Linked DNA regions of Homo sapiens: region 1 is linked to region 2. The links are contacts of gene promoters, found by promoter capture Hi-C in human tissues and cell types (Jung and others, 2019). All regions are on one chromosome and are shown on one strand. Each heading gives the region's core, a stretch centred on a gene start or on the middle of the fragment in contact. The rest is flanking DNA. Distances are from core to core; before and after follow the strand shown.

Region 1 (3,000 bases), core at 269-2,768, 820 kb before region 2:
CTGGAAGCTGGAGAAAGGTTATTCCCCGTGTGCCCAAGCAGGATGCTCAAAAGGCCAGGGACTCTCCCCACAGCCTTATCTAAAAGTTCTCATCATCTTGGCTATCAGGCCTGAAAAGGATCTTGATTCTTTGGTCCTCACCCCCTCAGGAAAGTTTTCCTTCATGGGTACCGGTCCCCAAAGACGAAAGTTTTCATAGCCCCGGTTCCCAGAAGGACTCAACTGACCAGACTGTGGGCCAGGGACTGAACCACCCCTAGGCTGTGGCTGCCGTGGCCTCTCCTGAGTCCCCAGATCAGGCAGAGAAAAGCGGGCAATGGCAGACCCCTGATCACAGTTAGGGGGGTCACAGTTAGGGGGGGACTTCTCTTGGGACCTGAAGCCGGAAGGCTCTAGGTTGGAGCCCAACAAGGCCCTCCTGGGGTCAGAAACAGGCACTGATCTCCTCTGCTTACCTCCTCCTGAAGGCTAAAGCCAGATCGCCCGACGAGAGCAGAGGCAAACCACAAAGCCCCCTTCCCATGATGTCTTTATTGCCCCAGGAGGGCCATCAGGGCCTCACCTGGGGCCCCCACTGGAGCACCTGCCACCTGCCCCATCCACACCTCTGCAGAACCCAGGGCCCCAGTCTATGGTTTGGTCCCCACTCTGACTTCTACCCCTTGCCTGTGTCACCCTGGGGTTCCCGCAGACTTCAGCCCACACAACTCTGCCTTCCTGACTCCAAACTCCCTGGTGCATCTCCCCCTGGCTCTGCCAAGATGGCAGCTGGCCAGGTGCGGTGGAATGGGAATGTTGCCAGGCTACCCCACCAGGGAACTAGCCTCCCTCCTCTCCACCCGGCGCTGACCCACTCCTAAGTCAGCTGGACCCACTACGTCCTCTGAAGTGGCTTCCTTCACTCCAGTTCTTCCCAAAAGGATGCGGCCTTGGCTGCCTGTGCCCCGGGCCTCCAGCCTCTGAAAGGTCAGTTCTATCCCCCGCACCAGGGCACAGGTTTGGTGGGTGTCCTTGGGGAACAAGGTGTGGCAAGGACACCTGGTGGCAGGCGTCCTTGGGGGAACAAGCTCTCCCCTCACCCAGTGCCCAGATAGCAACCCCCTCCCCACTGCCCCGCATCCTGGCTCCTTCATCCTCCTCTCCTTCCTCTGCATCCCATTCTTGCCCCCAACCCACATCTCCATTTACCTCTTCCCCGCTCCCGAGTCCTTTTTCCGCCTTTTCATCCATTTCCCCTCCCCCACCCCAAGCTCTCGGGCAGCCTCTCAGCTGGTCTCTCATCTCTCTCCACCTCTGCCCCGTCTCTCTCGATCTCTCCTCCTCGCGCTGTTTCTCTGTGCCTGTGCGTCCCCCTCGCTCCTTCTCCAATCATCTCTCATCTCCCTGTCTCTGCACCCCTCTTCTCCTCACCCCAGTGTCTTCTCCCATTCCCAGTCGCTTGCTGCGCCCCTCCCCTCACTCTCTCCTAACTCTGCTCTCCCCCTCCAACGCTGGGCTTGGTTTGCATCTTTGAGGAACTCCCTCCTACCCCAACTCCCTCCCACGGGGCTCCCGCATCCTCCCGCATTTAACTCGGACCCTCTGTCCCGCAGCGCCCCTACCCCAGGCCGACTGGACTGTCCGGGAAGGCGCCGGCGGGGAAGGGGAGCCCAGCGCTGGGACCAGAGCACTGCGGGGAGGCTTTGCCCGGGAGGAGTAAGTGGAGGAGTGAAGTCGGGACTTGGTAAGTTCCAGGTGGCAGGAACCCACTAGGTCCCAACATCTGATTCCGGCTAGGGTCCAGAGTGGGGAGACAGGCAGGGGACTTCTAGGGTCTTTCTTGGAAACCCTAACTCTCAGGTCCAAGTCCTGTGGAAATGAACACAAGGTTGGCAAACACATGGCGCTCAAGCGACCCTCTCCCCTCCGCCGAGGCCCGAGGCGGCTTCCCCTGGCATCCTGCAGGGCACCGCCCCTTCCCTGCAGGTCCAGGCCGCCAGGAGGGGGCGCTGGACGAAGCCGGTCTGCACCAGCAACTAGTGCTGAGGGAGCTGTCCAGGCCCCAGGGCAGGGAGGCTCCCCGGGAGAGATGGCTCTGCCGCCAGACCCACAGGGGAATGACGGGTGTTCAAAAAATACCAGGAGTCTCCCTCACCTGCTCCCTGCCAAGGGGAAGGGAGACGCCCCCACAGTGGGTGGAGGGGGGAGAAACTTCTCACCTGTCCCCCAACACACACACACACACACACGCTCACACGCGCACACACACGCACACACATTTCACCCACATACACATACACTCATGCCTCGGCTCCAAGCACTGCCCATAGGTGCAGACCCTGGGCATATCGCAAGGCGAGAGGTGGGCCAGGAGGAGGAAGAGGCTGGGACAGGGTAACAAGGCTTAGGAAGGGGGACAGGGGTACCCTGTTCAGAGATGACCTGCAAGTTCAAGTTATGCAGAAAAGTATCAAAGAGACAAGACAGTCTCTGCCCTTGGTAGACGCCTGGGGTATGGAGGGCATGAAAAGGGGCAGAAGGGGTAATGCATCCCCCAACTCCCCACCTCTGGGGTCCCCTCCACACCCCCAACCCTGACAACAGGGCCAAGAAGTCTGTGCTGTACAAAACAGGCCAGGGTCAAGGGTCCAGTCATTGGTGAGACATCCCAGCAGAGAGGAGGCCTGGGCAAAAGAGGCCAAGGTCAAGGGCTCAGTCATCAGTGAGATGTTCCAGCAGAGAGGAAGAGGAGGCCAGGCCAGCCCGGGCTGAGCAGCTTCTAAGCTCCAACTGCCGAGGCCACGTACCCCCTCCCGCTACCTCCAGAGCCTGAAAGTCTTTTCTGACTCTGGGCTGATCAGGGCCCCGGTCTGCAGCTGACAGCAGGGCCCTGTGCATCCCTCGGTGCAGCTCTCCCTCAGGGTGAGCTGGGAGCAGGCCGGAATGGAGCAGAGGAGGTCCCAGGGGAGACTGGTGGCACCTGGAGCTTTGTGGCAGATGTGGTGGAACCAACATCAGCCA
Region 2 (3,195 bases), core at 158-2,657:
ATTTAATTCTAACCACTCTCACCCACCAGTCAGGGTTGATGAACCACACTTCTGAATGAGAGAGAGAGAGAGAGAGAGAGAGAGAGAGAGAAGGCGGGGGGGGGGGGGGGGGAGGAAAGAGGGAGGGGGAGAGAAAAGGACGGAAGGAAGGAGGAAGGGCGGGAGAGAAAGGGAGAGGGAGAGGAAGGGGGGAGGAAGAGGGAGCGGGGAGAGAGAGAGAGAAGAGAGGGAGGGGGAGAGAGAGAAAGGGAGAGGGAGAGGAAGGGGGGAGGGAGAGGGAGTGGGGAGAGAGGGAGGGTGGGGAGAGAGAGAGAGAGAGAGAGAACTTCTTAGAGTACTTCTTCCCAGGGACCTGGTATTATCTGGTCCCTGTTAACACCTGCACTCAAAATAATTCACCTCTTTGAGATCAGATAATGAGTTAAAAATTCATTTAGGATGAGCTGAATGTCAGAGCATAAAAGCCTCAACTCTAACCTGCAGTGGAAGAGCCAGAGGTGAGTGATTTACACCTAACCCTCTGCAGAACAAGAACACAGTGTTCTGATTTCTAGGTTCCTGCAGGTTCCCTCAAACCTGCTGCTGAGACACACCCATGTTTCTAAAAGAATGCATGTACTAGATATTCCAGGCTCAGCCCAGATACTTCCATTCTTTAGTTCTCCTTCAGTCATTCATTCACTCAAGGAGTAAGTGTGGAGTGAATGTACACTGCAGATGCCACAGAGACTTAAAAAACCCTGAGCCCCTGCCTTCGGAGGGTCGTTCAGGCCATCTTTACGTTTCCCGAGGTGCCCATCCTACCTGGGGGCCCTACCCCGAGCAACAGTTCAATCATCTCTGCTGGGAGCTGCAGTAGGCGGCAGAAAGGAATGGTTAGGAGGGTTCAAATCTCGGCTCTACTACCACTTAAGCAGCTGTGCAAGAGGCTCCACGTCTCCGAACCTCAAGTGTCCTCATCTGTAAAGTGTTGAGAAGAATAGCACCTTCTTCACAAGGCTGTTAGCAGGCGGAGATTACGAACAATGCTGAGGGCTCGGTATACAGTAGCTCCTCTGCTGTTCCTCGTTTTGTTTTCAATTGTTGACCGAAAAGAAGGAAGGGAGACTGGCAGGAGACGCAGGAGCGGCGCGCCCCGCAAAGTCAGGGAGGTTCCTCGGCCTCACCTCTGGACTCCCCTCGGAATGGTCCGCAAGGACGGGGCCAGAGCCCCCCAAATCTCTAAGCGGTGGAGGGGAGCTGAACGGCTCCAGCTTGGGATTTGGGACTCAGGACGGCCGAGGAACCCGTGAAGGCCGCGACCGTGGCCTTCACCCTGCTAGGCCTCCTCAGTACCAACACTCACCATGATTGCGGCGGTGGCTGCTCCAGGTCTCGGACGTGGCAGCTCCCGGCGGCGCCTCGGAACAGCTCACTTCCGGCGCCGGGCCCGACGGGCCGTGGCGTAGGAGCCTCCGGGCAGCAACGCGCTCGGCTCGCACAGCAGTTCCGCGCCTTCCAGAGGGCGCGCCCCGCCCTCCCGTGGCCCAGCCCCTATCCTCCAGTGACGTGCGAGACCAGAGGGCTGGGGCTCTGGTTGCCGCAGTTACCCTGACCCGGAGGGCTTTGGAATCTGAAGCTCTGGTGGGTCTACTCTCCCGACCAAGTCTGCCCTTTTCCTGAGATCCATAAATGAAAGAAAGGATTAATATAACTATCGGCCGGGCGCGGTGGCTCATGCCTGTAATCCCAGAACTTTGGGAGGCTGAGCTGGGGGGTGGATCACCTGAGGTCAGGAGTTCGAGACCAGCCTGGCCAACATGGTGAAACCCCGTCTCTACCAAAAATACAAAAATTAGCCGGGCATAGTGGCGCGCGCCTGTAGTCCCAGCTACAGGCTGAGGCAGGAGAATCGCTGGAACCCGGGAGGTGGAGGTTACAGTGAGCCGTGACTGCACCATTGCACTCCAGCCTGGGCAACAGAGAGACACTCTTGTAAAAAAGAAAAAAATCTATCTATCTATCTATCTATCTATCTATCTATCTATCTATCTATCTATCATCTATCTATCTGCAGCTTCACCCGCCTCACTACGGCTCTGGGTGCGACTGGTCTTATGATGAATGTTGTAGGATGAGTGACATCTTAGGAGTAAGTAGACTGTCCTAGTGCTTCCTTGTTGTAGTCTCCCTCTCAGTACCCAAGGACTGGGACCAGGGCAGAGGAGGCCAGGGAATGCCCCTCGCCAGAGGCTGGGACCTCTGGCCCTGCCATCCCTAACCCCTATATAGGACTGCCCCTTCCAAACCGATCCCCTGGGGTCCTGAGTAAGTCCCATCAAGGAGACCCCCCTAGGCAATGAAGGATCTCAGCCAGGCTCCTGCAGCTAGAGCCCCAGACCTAATCCTCAGGGTCCCCAACCCCAGGTCTCTGGCTTCACAAGGTAGGGCAGCTGAAGGCTCCCCACAAGCGCAGTGAGAATGCCACACTGGAGGACAGAGCCTGGGCTCCCCGCCTCAGCCACATATGGTCTAGCCCTGGGCCCCTTGTGACATTAAGGAGGCAGATGAGCTGGGGGAGGCCTTGGCTCCCCTTGGGCAAGTCACAGTCCTTCAGTTTCCTCTGCTGAAACTGGGAGTAAGGACCCTAGCTGGAGATGGTCACTGCTTGAAGGAAGATGTTAAGGCTCAGAGAATGTGATAGACCCAAACTGTCAAGGAGCTTTGGAGGGGAGGCCAGGGGAGTAGGGTGTTAGAATTAAGGGCCAGGCCTCTGGGCAACTCTTCTACCCCACTGCAGCTTTCAAGATTTTTTATTGCCCTCTAGTGGAGAAATTGTTGCAGGGGTGTGAGGGGGTGGTGGTTAGGTTAGAGCAGGGAACAAAGGCAGGTTTCAGGGGATCTCTTGGATCTCCTGTTGTTTTTTTTGTTTTTTTTTTTTTGGAGATGGACTCTAGCTCTGTTGCCCAGGCTGGAGTCCAGTGGTATGATCTTGGCTCACTGCAACCTCTACCTCCCGGGTTCAAGCAATTCTCCTGCCTCAGCCTCCTGAGTAGCTGGGATTACAGGCATGTGCCACCATGCCTGGCTAATTTTTGTAGTTTTAGTAGAGATGGGGTTTCACCATGTTGGCCAGGCTGGTCTCAAACTCCTGACCTCTGGTGATCTACTCTCCTCGGCCTCTCAAAGTGCTGGGATTACAGGTGTGAGCCGCTG

Evidence for each region. Contacts are between HindIII fragments. The study calls those that stand out against the background at their distance.
Region 1: a contact is called between a fragment that was not itself captured here and the fragment with the promoter of SEC13 in region 2, in 1 of the 25 tissues and cell types used here (lymphoblastoid cells).

Annotation. Positions count from the first base shown.
Region 1 is chr3:9,498,733-9,501,732 of GRCh38, forward strand. It overlaps LHFPL4 (LHFPL tetraspan subfamily member 4), which reads right to left. Exons shown (of 4, transcript NM_198560.3): 4 at 1-3,000. Among named protein-coding and RNA genes, the nearest start is that of LHFPL4, 54 kb to the right of the region's middle. RefSeq lists an enhancer at 2,594-3,000. The HindIII fragment of the contact is 7,926 bases long and covers 1-3,000 here.
Region 2 is chr3:10,319,705-10,322,899 of GRCh38, forward strand. SEC13 (SEC13 homolog, nuclear pore and COPII component) reads right to left here and starts at 1,408. Exons shown (of 9, transcript NM_183352.3): 1 at 1,346-1,408. The coding sequence starts at 1,348. RefSeq lists enhancers at 1,074-1,373, 1,121-1,716 and a silencer at 1,564-1,643. The HindIII fragment of the contact is 24,307 bases long and covers 1-3,195 here.